Regions from separate parts of the Homo sapiens genome. Here all the other regions are linked to region 2. The links are contacts of gene promoters, found by promoter capture Hi-C in blood cells and fetal thymus (Javierre and others, 2016). All regions are on one chromosome and are shown on one strand. Each heading gives the region's core, a stretch centred on a gene start or on the middle of the fragment in contact. The rest is flanking DNA. Distances are from core to core; before and after follow the strand shown.

What was found. Contacts are between HindIII fragments. The CHiCAGO score rates a contact against its expected background, and 5 or more counts as called.
Region 1: a contact is called between a fragment that was not itself captured here and the fragment with the promoter of DUSP19 in region 2, in 7 of 17 cell types (activated CD4 T cells, naive CD8 T cells, total CD8 T cells and 4 more). The highest score is 10.0, in activated CD4 T cells.
Region 3: a contact is called between a fragment that was not itself captured here and the fragment with the promoter of DUSP19 in region 2, in 4 of 17 cell types (non-activated CD4 T cells, total CD4 T cells, total CD8 T cells and 1 more). The highest score is 9.4, in non-activated CD4 T cells.

Annotation. Positions count from the first base shown.
Region 1 is chr2:182,666,702-182,671,076 of GRCh38, forward strand. The region is part of intron 6 of LOC101929976 (a long non-coding RNA gene); the gene reads right to left. It also overlaps a transcript of PDE1A not described here. Among named protein-coding and RNA genes, the nearest start is that of DNAJC10, 47 kb to the right of the region's middle. The HindIII fragment of the contact is 3,687 bases long and covers 1-3,639 here.
Region 2 is chr2:183,077,120-183,081,649 of GRCh38, forward strand. It overlaps DUSP19 (dual specificity phosphatase 19), which reads left to right and starts at 1,628. Exons shown (of 4, transcript NM_080876.4): 1 at 1,628-2,040. The coding sequence starts at 1,815. The HindIII fragment of the contact is 1,671 bases long and covers 612-2,282 here.
Region 3 is chr2:182,720,031-182,724,414 of GRCh38, forward strand. It overlaps DNAJC10 (DnaJ heat shock protein family (Hsp40) member C10), which reads left to right. Exons shown (of 24, transcript NM_018981.4): 4 at 1-139; 5 at 1,995-2,045. Among named protein-coding and RNA genes, the nearest start is that of DNAJC10, 6.0 kb to the left of the region's middle. The HindIII fragment of the contact is 2,201 bases long and covers 1,482-3,682 here.

The DNA of each region.
Region 1 (4,375 bases), core at 546-3,045, 410 kb before region 2:
GTCTATTGCAACTCTACATTCAGGAACCAGGGAAGAAATTACCAGCTAACTTCTACCTCTATCTAAGCCTTTGTCTATCACCTGGCCACCATAAGCTCCCATTTGACTGGTACAGTATAGCAGGTTTGGAGTGCCCAGGAATAGCATCAGTTCATATTAAGTGTCTAGGAATATCTGAATAGTCTGGGTATTTCCTTTTTCCCAGTACACAGTCACGGTCTAGGTACTTCCTTTTTCCCAGTGCACAGTCCTGCTAGTAAGTCACCCTTTGGGAAAGAATCAGGGGAAATTTTACATTCTATATTTGGTTCTGCTGTAGCATCCTTCTTCAAAAGAACCTGGCCTCCCCTTGAATCAGGGGGTTCTAACCTGTGAACTGGTTTAGCTCTAAAAAGTAGGTAGAAATCCATCACTCTCCACTAGGTGGCTCAAGTCAGGTTTTTAGCCACCAGACCTGCAGTTTCTGTTTTATAAATTAAGCAGCTTTTTAGTAGGCTGCTCATCATTTTCATTTCTGGTAACCACATGGTCAATTAGTCACTACCAAAAATTCCTGCAGGTCTAAATAGTCTGATTACCTTTACAGTAATCAGAATCTGCCAGCCTTTATAACAAATATGGCTGCTTTATCTTTGGCAGTTAAGTATTGTCCATTGGCCTCTGCTCTTTCAGGGTCCCATCATCCCTATTGGAATCAGGGAACCCATCACAATGGTGGTATTTCCCACCATCATATGTGGCTTACATATGAGAGCCACTACAGTGCTCTTCAGAGTGTGGGTGTTCCCCTCACTAATGTGTTTCTCACTGCTTTCAAGGGAGTATCCTCTGAGTCTCCTCAGACAATACAGTTGAGGGTAGAGGGACACAGCACCCATATAACAAATCATTCCTGTTCGAAGTCTTTGGAGTCCTAAACTTTTAGATTCCTTTCTGCACATGTGAAGTCAACAAACATTTTCTGTAAAGGACCAGATTGTAAATATTTTAGGCTTTGTGAGTCAACAGTCCAAACAGAAGAGATTCTGTCACAGAGGGATTAGAATTGCTATATCTGGAAAAGACAGAACAATGTCAATGTTCAACTTCCAAAACTGCAACCCAAAATGAGAGATTTTATAAGTTCCAAAATCTCTTTCTTTCAAATGAAAAGTAAACCCTTGGGATCTGAAAATAGGGCTTTATTAGAAGCCATAGTGTAAAGAATACTTGAGATATAATATCAAGGAAGTCCCACCAGAGATATTAGAGTCTGCTAAGGGAAAGGATTGAAGGAGGGAAGTGGGATGGTGCTGATGAAGATGCAACACCCTTCCCAACCCATGGACTTCAGTCAAAGGGAAAAGAGATTCCTAAATGGGTGGAGAAGGAATCCAAAATTATCTGGGAGGCTGCTCTGTCCTTCTCAGTATAGCATGGCTGAGAGGTATTAGTCCATGATCAGAGAGCAGTGAGTATTTAAGAGTAGCCTGAGGTAGCACCAATTCTCCACAGCTGACTTATGATTCCCAAGGGCTCAGAGACGTAGGATTTGTAGGGGTTCTGAGAAGGATGCTGGACAACTAGAGATCTGCAGTCAAGACAGGAGATATGGGGCAGGCACATCACAACAGTGACAAATGGTAGGAACCATGGACTTAGGCAGAGGGCACTTACAGATGAGTGTTATAAGCATACCTCTGCAAGATTAGACCAGACCAATCAACTTCACTTCAGTGGAGACTAGCATGAGACCGAAAAAAAGGCAAAAAAAACCAATAGAGGCCACCAAGAGTAACTGTAAGCCACACACACATGCATACCCCTAGACAGTCTCTAGAAATGGAGGAAATGGAAGAGAGATGTCAGGTTTGAGCCCAAACTGAGGTTCAAGGGGGAGTTGGTGGATGACTGGTAGGTAGTTGAAAGAACACTCAGGGGGCTGCAGTCAGGTGAAATATGGCTTTATTCTCTCTCTGGGCACAAGCCTTTGTCTCGGCTGCCTGCTCCTGCCACAGCCCTTCTCAGCAGCCAGCTCTTCGGCTCCTGCTGCCCCAACGCATACAGCTGCACTCCCTGGAGCACTCACCATTTCCTGGCTCCCCACTGTCTGCCTGCAAGGTGGTTAGCTCTGGCTCTCTCTTACAGAGTCAGCAGCTTTACTCTCTCTCTCTCTCCTGCCTCGTGCGAGCCGGTGGCAGCAGGGCAGTTACACTCCTTACAGACAACAGTGGCTCAGAGCCAAGTATGAGCTTAACAAACAGGTTACATAATGCATGGGACTGTGCACCTGTGCTCCAATCCCACTCATCATGCTGTACTGGATGTTTATCTTGGCCTATTCTTGACCACAGCATATCCATTTTCCTTTCAAGAGGCCTTTGATAGAGGAGAGAAACAGCCTTTCAGGAAGGTTGAACTTTGAATTAACTGTTTCCCCCAAAGAAGCTATTCTAGACTGAAAAGACCAAATAACCTTTAATAAGGCAAGATTAAGTGTACTGACCCTTCACTCACCCCAGACACACTATTTACAGGACTCCAAAGATCATTCCTCAAAACAAAGGAATACTACTTGTTTTGGCCCATTTTGTTTGTTAGGTGTGACTTTTAATACAATAGCCCAGTAGGGTCAGGTGTTGCTTAATTAAAGTGATGGGAATTATTGTTTTGACAAAGTCAAAGACTGTTCCCAGATGTGGGTTTTTAACCCATCTTTTAACAAATATTCCCACCAGTCAAGGAAAATTTGTTGAATTTTGCTATAGTTTCCATGTATTAAAAGTTGGAAGTTTGTTTTGTTTTCTATTTTCAGTCTCTTCTCTGACTTTACCTTTTGTTAAGATCTCACCCTTCTTTAAAACAGCAACCTTCGCTATTTTTCCCTATTAAGCATGTTATTTCTTTCCCATCTTCCTGATTAAAGATTTTTAATGAACTCCCCATCACTCATATTTTCGTCATTAATTCTGTTTATAATCCCTTGTATTTTACATTCTATTCGCACAGCTCTTGACTGCCTTATCATAGGTGGTTCCCACACTTCTTAACTCTCTCCTTTGAATCCACCTTTTACGCCATGTGTATGGTAAACACCCTGATAGCAATGACATAAGCATACCCTGAAAATGCTCCCATATGGCAGACGCACCTGCGTGTGCGTTCTGAGCTAAGGAATCCGGGAGTGGCCAACCCAGAGATTCATTCCTTGTCTATTAGGAACATCTGAGCCCTCGGAGCATCCCATGGGAACATGGGCCACACACGGGCCCATTTGGAGCACATGAAGGTTGCCAGGTGCAGGTCATTAAGGGATGATGGTGTTAAGTAAAAATGCTATATAAACCACATGCTGTTTGCAAGCAGTTTTGGTTTTCCTGGCCAGCTCACTGCCACAGGGCCATGCAGATATCTTGTCCAGCCCACCACCACTGGATTCTCTCTTCCCTGTATATAAGTGCCCAGTACAACCCCATGTCTCGTTTGCTGGCTCTGGGTCTCTTTTTGGCTTCTTGAATCAAAAGGTACTCAGGGGGTTTACCCTACACCTGTTTAGAGAAAAAATTCCAAGGTCTTCAGTTGTTCCCACCTAAACCATTTAACTGTTTTACAAGGACTAGTATTTCTCAATCCTTAATTGCACACTAAAGACTCCTAGGAAGCTTGAAAAATTAATATAGAGTCCTGAGCTCTACAACAGGGCAAGTAAATCAGAATATCTCAGAGTGAGACCCAGCTATCAATAGCTTTTAAAAGCTCTCCAAGCTATTCTCATGTGCAGTCAAGGTTGAGAATCATTTATCTAGAACTAGATCAAGTCAAAGTTGGGCTAGATTGTCCTAGGCCTAGGGCAATGATGCATCACAATCACCTGGGGGATCTTGTTAATATTCCTGGATTTCAGACCAATTGAATTAAAATCTCTAGTGATGGGTGCCGAAGCCTCTTTTTAACAAGCTCTCCAGACATTCTTATTTAGCCAAATGGTCCTGGTGTGGTGACCAGTATTTGGGAAACCAATCACCTACCAATGTTTCTCAAGCTTTAAGGCACATAAGAATCACCTGAGAAATCTTGTTGATGTGGAAGTTTTAATTCAGTAGGACTATGGTAGAACCTGAGAGTCACTATTTCTTTTAGAGGGGAGGCGGGTGGTGGATGGAATCTTGCTCTGTCGTCCTGGCTGGAGTGCAGTGGTGTGATCTCGGCTCACTGCAACCTTTGCCTCCTGGGTTCAAGTGATTCTCCTGCCTCAGCCTCCCGAGTAACTGGTTTTACAGGCGTACACCACCAAGCCTAGCTAATTTTTGTATTTTTAGTAGAGATGGGGTTTCACGATGTTGGCCAGGTTGGTCTCAAACTCCTGACCCCAAGTGATCCGCCCACCTTGGCCTCC
Region 2 (4,530 bases), core at 378-2,877:
GATCATGGCTCACTGCAGCCTCAACCTCCTTAGCTCAGGTGATCCTCCCACCTCAGCCTCCCAGGTAGCTGAGACTACAGGCACGTGCCACCAAACCTGGCTAATTTTTTGTATTTTTTAGTGGAGTTGGGGTTTCATCATGTTGCCCAGGCTGGTCTCGAACTCCTGGGCTCAAGCAATCCACCCATTTTGGCCTCCCAAAGTGCTGGAATTACAGGCATGCGCCACTGTACTGGGCCTATTCCTTTTTCAAGAGGGAGAAGTTTGGTTTATATCTCAGTTTGCTCAGGCTGCTCTAACAAAATGCCATAAACTTTGTTGCTTAAACAACCGAAATATATTTTCTTACAGTTCTGGAGGCTGAGAAGTCCAAGATCAAGGTGCTGGCCTATTCAGTTCCTGCTGAAAGCTCTCTTCCTGGCTTGCAGACAGCCAGCTTCTCCTTATGTCCTCATACTGTCTTTCCTTGGTCCATATAGGGGAGCAGGCAGATTTCTTTCAGTTCTCCTGAAGCCACTAAACCCATCATGAGGACCCTACCCTAGGGTCTTAGTCTAATCCTAAATTACATCCCAAAAGTCCCATTTAAATACCATCACCTTGAGGTTTAAAGCTTTAACATATGCATTTTGAAGGGACAGAAATAGTCAATCCATAACAGTTGAATTTTTTTATGTCAGAAAGTTTCAACAACAACACAAATTTTAATATGTGGTATTGGAAGAAAAGTTTTCATAAGTGCAACTTCTTCATTTTATATATGTGTTTATACATTGTGTTGAAATTCATTTAAAATTACATTTACTTTAATAGGGGTTTGAAAAATTTCTCTTTAAAGGAATCTTGTGATTTCTTTTGCAAAACTTTTTTTTGGTAATCAGAATCATCGTTCTATAATTTATTTATCTGTTTTACAAATTTGGATGCTTACACAATTGATTTTCTTAATTCTTCGTATGGATGGACTTGCTGCAATTCTTATTTAGGATGTATATTTACTGTATGAAATGAAAATGTAGGCTGAAAGTCAGAAAATAAATAAATTTTAAGCTCTTGTCAATCTACATATATGAGCATAAATTTTAAAAAATATATCTTTTTTCCCAGTTTATTTAAATTGTTGCCTCACAAATACGCACAACAACTTTATCTAGTAAACGTTCCTCTTGCATTAACAGCAAAAGCAGAAGGTGTGAAGGATACAGGAAGCGAGAAATAACTTTTAACGTCTGCTCTAGCCCTCCTGGACTAGCCTAAAAGCAGACAGGCAGGAAAGGCTTTGGGACATAGGGTGATTTGCAAGGTGACTCCGCCGGTCTCTTTCAAGCGGGAGCGATACACAGGTCAGCCCGGATCGTCCATGGTCACTGCCGTAAGTGACACTAACAGAATATATCAGAAAATCACTGCCTTTAAAGAACCAGGACATATCATTCCTCTCTCCAACGAAGTCTTATATTTTACCATTCTGCGTGTATTAGAAAGCTAAATTTAAACAGCAACAATAAGAAATCTTCCCCAGTGGATCCCTCGAGCCTTTCGGGAAAATGCAGGTTTCTGGCTGACAGGAAGAAGAAACAGCATCCAATCGGCACTTGTGTCTCAATGACCAATCAAATTTCGCCTTACATTGCATCGCTGGGATAAACGGAGCTGGACGACTCAGTCTCTTGGTCTGTGGCTGCTGCGGTTACCTGGATGGGCGAGCACCTCTGAGGCTGGCTTTGTTACCTGGGCAATAAGGGACTAGCAGTTCAGCCGTTTTCTATGCCTGCTGGATTTGTTTGTATTTGTTCCCAGCCACTGCTCATGTAATGTACTCCCTTAACCAGGAAATTAAAGCATTCTCCCGGAATAATCTCAGGAAGCAATGCACCAGGGTGACAACGCTAACTGGAAAGAAAATTATAGAAACATGGAAAGATGCCAGAATTCATGTTGTGGAAGAAGTAGAGCCGAGCAGTGGGGGTGGTTGTGGTTATGTGCAGGACCTTAGCTCGGACCTGCAAGTTGGCGTTATTAAGCCATGGTTGCTCCTAGGTGAGTATATCGACTTGCCACTAGATCATTGAGTCCTTTTAGCCAGATTACGTTCTCATTTTCCCCCTTTATGCGTAATAGTCTGTATTATCAGCTATCCTGCCGAAAAGCTGAACTGTTTCCTTTTTTGGATATGGAACTTCCATTAGCCAGCTAGAGCCGTTTCTGCCTCACAGTGTACCCATAAGAAGCATAGATGCTATTCTCGTAGCACTTGGCACTGCATATTTGAATTTTAGAAAAGCTTTCTTCCCGTTTCTCTAACTTCTCTGGAGAATAACACATTGATGTTGTGTTTTCTTGGCTTATAAAAAATACAGCTTGAAAAAAAAGGAATGAAAAAAGAATGTTTGTATCAGGCAGAACTACAAGTGACAATGGTTAAAGTTATAGAAAAGTTAATACTCGAAATAGTCCTGTGCTTGCTGGCCTGCGCAGCTCTTACAGACCGTGCGGAATACATGCCTCCTGTGGCCACGTCTGTTCATGGTGTCTGTTTTTGGAGTGTTTAAGAGAAGGAGATCTTAAGATCTTATGATTTATTTCGTATTATGGAAATACTGAGCCCCTATACAAGCATAGTTCACAAATAGCAAATGAAGCAAGGTTATAAAAGTGCAAACTTGTTAATTTGGCAAGAATATGGTATGGTGTTCTTAAAAAAATAGTCAAGAATGTTTTCAAGTACGTCTGAATTATTTCTATTTATGAATAGAGAAATTAAGACTTGGAAAGACTAAATGACTTATCACTATGCAGCTAAGGCATTCTTGAATAGAGAGAAGACTGAGAAATAGCCCAGGTGCTGTTCACCTAGTGTCTTACTCCTTTGAGGAATCCTGTGAAGTAGGGATTATCAGCTTTGTTTTACAAATAGAAACCAGGATTTAAAATTGGTGAAGTAATTTACACAAGGTAACACACCTGGTAAATAACAGACGTATGCATCAAGCCCAAGTCTGATGGACTCCTGCTGTCCATTGTTATACTAGGCTGCCTCACATAGACCAAGTTTTCAATCCTGCTCCGCCTCTAATTTACTAGATTAGCTGGTGCAAGCCATTTATCCTTTCTGGTCCTCCAAAAAGCCATTTGTAAAGATGAAGTAACAGTATCTGCTTATGTCATAGGATCCTCCTGAGGTTGTTGTAAAAGGTTTTTGATGCAAATCAATTGCAGTGTACATATAAGTTATTAAATATTATATGAATTGTTACATAGGCTGTCTTTAAATTCACCAAATAAATGTCTCTAACTAGTTTCTACAGTCCCGTGAAAAACTGTACCATATTCTTGTCACATTTACAGTGAAAAAGTGAGTTATTTAGGTAATCTGAAAAGTTCACCTAGGCCCTGCTCACCATATCTAGGAAAGAAAATACGTCCTGGCACATTTTTCAGTTATTTTGGCTTCCACTGTAGTAATCATGGCTTGGAATAATTATGGTAGAATTTTCATATATCATTCACCAATTTAGGGTCTTCATGAACTTTGCTTATTACTATTATTTGTGGACTTACCCAAAGTGAACTGATCAAGGTAGTGTTCTGAGATTGGGGTTGGAAACCTCCCCAGGATAGTGGGAGAGTCCTGGGAGGAACTTCTGAAACTAGCCCTAATAAGGTCTTCTCTGGAATGGGATACTTTCATCAGGAGCAACCTCCTCCCTTCTGAAAGCTCACCTTTTTCTGCCTAATTACAAGTGCCTCATTCCTAAAGGATCCATGGGTGGTTCCACCCGCAGTTCTTCTACATGAATGTTGAAAGAGTTGTTTCTGACCAGACTTAGTTTACGTCTGGGAGACTGGGGTTGTTTGCAGGTTGGTTCTAAGAGCTTCTTTCACCTCCTCAAAGCGACACAGCTTCCTCCCAGCATCGCATGCCAAACAACTTTTGGTTTGGGTGATGAATAAAGAAAATGAAGAGTTGTAAAAATGTAATCTTTTTTAGTTCGTAAACTCTAAAAAGTGACTGCATTTAAAAAATATTACATAGGCCCTCGAACCATTTAAAAATGGAGAAAAGATTTTAGACAGCATTTTTGTCCTAGGCTTTGAACATTATATATAGACAGATAATTATTTATTATTTATTTATTTATTTTGAGATAGGGTCTCAAAATAAATCCAGGGTGGAGTGCAGTGGCACGATCTTGGCTCACTGCAACCTCTGCCTTCCAGGCTCCAGCGATCGTCCCACCTCAGCCTCTGAATAGCTGGGAATACAGGTGCACACCACCATGCCTGGCTAATTTTTTTGTACTTTTTGTAGAGATGCGGTTTTACCATGTTGCCCAAGCTGGTCTTGAACTCCTGGGCTTGAGCAGTCTGCCCGCCTTGGCCTCCCAAATTTCTGGGATTACAGGCATGAGCCACCACGCCTGACTAAACCACCAAATTTCAATTATTTGAACCTATTTTTTCCTCTGGAGTTGGTTAGGGCTTTCTACATTAGAAAACAGAATTTTAAAAAAAATTATGAAGTATTTC
Region 3 (4,384 bases), core at 1,332-3,831, 360 kb before region 2:
TTTTTAAAAATAAATAGAGCATATGAAGTACTCAAAGATGAAGATCTACGGAAAAAGTATGACAAATATGGAGAAAAGGGACTTGAGGATAATCAAGGTGGCCAGTATGAAAGCTGGAACTATTATCGTTATGATTTTGGTAAGGTGATACGATATTACTTATGAAATGTGTTTTATCTGAGTAAAAGAAAAGTGAATTCTGTTTCACCACTTAGCTTATATATTTAAGATGCGTCACTTTGATTAGCTCCTTTTAATTTGCTGTGGGAGTGAAATTTAAAAGGAATGTCAGTTGGTATACAGAGATGATCTGTACAGATATGAAGTTGTATTGGTTAAATCTTGTTAAATACTTTTAAAATAAGGATTGCTATTTAATAAAAAATATGCATTCATGGACTGCATAATGACATTTCACTTAACAATGGATTGTATGTAGGACATTGGTCCCATGAAATTATAATACCATATTTTTACTGTACCTTTTCTATATTTAAATACAAAGATACTTAGCATTGTGTTACAGTTGCCTATGGTATTCAGCAGTAACATGCTGTACAGATTTGTAGACTAGGTGTGTAGTAAGCTATACTATCTAGGTTTGTGTAAGTACACTCTGTGATGTTTTTGCAACAACAAAATTCCCTAACAACACATTTCTCAGAATGTGTCCCATTAGTAAGTGATGTATGACTATATGTTTGCATTAGGGGTAGCTAAATATTTCTTTCAGTATTTTTTAGTATTGAATAATATTAATTTCTTTCAATATATTTTAGAGCATCATATTGTCCAAGAAAGGCGAAACTTCAAGTTTAGTAATGATCTCTTCAATAGAAATGCCGTCCTTCTCATATGGAACCCTTACTGATTTTTAAGGTGTTTTGGCCTTCGGTTGACATTAAGGTCAATACCTTGAAACATTATCAATAAAGGTTCCATATGAGAAGGACGAAAGGTGTTTTTTTTCTTAAACATGGAGGAAAAAATAAGGTGGAAGGAGGAAACAAAGTAAAGGAACTAAGGAAGAGAGATTGTAAACACACAGGTATCAAGGGAGGAAGGTGTGTTCAGAGACCCAGTGTTTCTCCTAGTCATTAATTAACCTCAAATGCAGGCTAAGAACTGAATATGCTTCTGTATTAGACTAAATGAAGTATTTTAAATTTATATCTGGAGGATTTGCTTTTAGTAAATATGATTTTTTTTCAAAATAGTATTTTCAAGTATATTCTCTACACCTTGATAGTCTATATCAAGAGTTAGCAGACTGCATTTCATAGGCCAAATCTGGCTTGCCATTTGCTTTTATAAATAAGTTTTATTGGAATGGAATTACTTTAATTTGTTTACATAATATATGTGACTTCTTTCACACTTCAAGAGCAGAGTTGAGAAGTTGTGATAGAAGCCATACATCCCACAAAGCCTAAAAAATGTATATTTACTAAATATTTGTGTCTGCCTCTGCAAATACTCTAAGCTTTTTAGCAGAAGATATTCTAACATGATACCATGTGTTAAAAACCATATAATCTGAAAATCAAATGAGGTCTGTAGTCTAGTTAACAGTGTACCACTCTCAATTTCCTGGTTTTCGATATTGTGCTATATAGCTACATAACATGTCACCATTAGAGGAAGGTGAGTAAAAAGTATACAAGAGTCTATATTTTTGCACCTTCCTGAATCTGTAATTATTTTTAAAACCATAATATAAATTTTATATGGAGGTAAAATTATGTGAATATTACGAACTACCGCATACACATCTATGAGAGTCCATATCAGAATTCTAATATCTTTAGATCACCCTAAATGTACTGATAGTATTATTTACTTTTTTTTCACTTAGGATGTTGCATATTCTCTAAGTTTGAGATATAATATAGTAGTTTGATTTTTTTGATGATTAAAACGAGTAATCTATTTTTATGTTGCAATTTATATGGTGAAGTTTTGATTTTATAATTTTTATATACTTTTAAAATTAGGTATTTATGATGATGATCCTGAAATCATAACATTGGAAAGAAGAGAATTTGGTAAGTTTGTGGGCTTAAGGTTTTATAAAACTAATACAAGTTCGATCTCATCTAAAACTCTAGGGGATATATATGTTTGAAATTTAGAAATCTTTTGGAGTTTCGAACAGTAATAATGTAATATACTGTATCTTAAATATTTCTAGCAGAATGTGGGGAAGTGTACCATAATAAAAACATTAATATTTATGTAGCAAAATGTGTAAGTATATATACTAAATAAAAGAAATTTAAAAATCAGTTCAGATCAGGTTTGGATGCCAAGTGAGCTTGCTGCAAACTTACAGCAAAACTTCTCAGAGCTTTTTGATTTTAGAGTTTTGGATAAAGGTATAGTTATTTTGGAAGTAGATTTAATTTGATTGGCAACTTTGTGTGAAAATGGCCATAAAAATACAGTTCTGCATTTTCCATTGCATTTTAGAAAATTGTATACCAGAATAGATTCTTATACTTTCATCCTTTGTACAGTAATAATAGGTTTATTTTTTCTATTTCAGAGCAATAAATTAAACTTCAAATCAAATTTCAATTTTATATTGCTCTATCACAATTGTATTTAATTTAGAAAACTAAAATACAGCCAGGCGCGGTGGCTCACACCTGTATAATCCCAGCACTTTGGGAGGCCAAGGCAGGCAGATCGCTTGAGATCAGGAGTTAGAAACCAGCCTGGCCAACATGGGGAAAACCCTCTCTACTAAAAATACAAAAATTAGGTGTGCCTGGTGGCACGCACCTGTAATCCCAGCTACTTGGGAGGCTGACGCACAAGAATCGCGTGAATCTGGGAGGCTGATATTGCAGTGAGCCATGATGGCACCACAAAAAAAAAGAAAACTAAAATAGCGTACCAGTCGCAAAAAATACATATAAATCTATATGTTTTTCATATATTATCGTTAAAAATTTATTACAGCTACTTGATTTTATACAGTTTGTTCCTTCTAAGCAAGGGTGGCTTTTTTTTTTTTTTTTTTTTGAGACGGAGTCTTGCTTTGTCACCCAGACCAGTGTGCAGTGGCACGATCTTGGCTCACTGCAACCTCTGCCCCCTGGGTTCAAGCGATTCTCCTGCCTCAGCCTTCTGAATAGCTGGGATTACAGGTGCCCGCTACCACACCCAGTTAATTTTTGTATTTGTATTTTTAGTAGAGACAGGATTTCACCATGTTGGCCAGGCTGATCTCGAACTCCTGACCTCAGGCGATCCACCCACGTTGGCCTCCCAAAGTGCCAGGATTACAGGCATGAGCCACCACATCTGGCCAAGGGTGGCATTTTAATCTTATTTTCTACATCATGCTGGTGAGCTTCACATACAAAATAGCTGTTCAATGTGTTACTTTGTTAAAAGCCTTCTAGGTGAACACTTGAACATGTTCTAAGTGAATAGAAAATACATCTTTCCTGTGTTCTGCAAATAAGACAATTTGATTCATTTGGATTGTTAATAGAATTAATGCTCATGTCACAAGCTGGTAGAATCATAACTCTCGTGTGAGTTATATAAACCTATAGCTGTTCCTGTGTGGTTTTTATTGTCTCTCATCTCCTAATATATCAGTAAGTGTTTTGTGTACCAATGGTTCAGAAAACATCGGAATTACAGATAGAGGAACTGAACAAAACTTGCAAGCTTACTAATCCATGAGTCTACCTAGAATGAGACTTCACTGATAGTTATATTGTATATGGGTTCACACTTTTTCAGATGTGTCACTATGCAGAAAAGCTTAAGAACTGTTAATAGTTCATATAGAACCCCAAATGGTAGTTCAAGATAAATTGCAGCCACAAAACTTCAGAGATAATTCATAAATAATTAACCTTGCTTGATGAGAGGAATGAGCAGGAGCATTGTTGTGATAGAGAAGGACCCTCTAGTGAAGCTTTCCCAGGCATTTTTCTGCTAAGCAGATGTTATCATTTCTGGCTCTCTAGAAAGTCAACAAGCAAATGCCTTCTAAGCTCTTCTATTATATGCAGCATAGGTTAAGTAGGTTTAATCAATTCTGACAGCTACTGTAAACTCTGAAAGAATAAAATAAGAGACCTACATAATACAGTAAGGATTGCGGGGATTAAATTTAATATAAGCCCTAAATAAGACATTACCTTGGAAAATCACTTTATTTGAAAAGATTGACTTTTTTTTAACAATTCAAAACATTAATACATACTTGCTAAAATTATAGATTTGAACATGTGATATCTAGCCAATAGTGCAGTTTATATTTTATCTGTAAAATGACCTGATGCAAATTACAAATTTTACTCACTTAAAAAATTTAACATTGTAAAAATGTGCTTTCACATTCAAGATAAAAAGGCGAGGG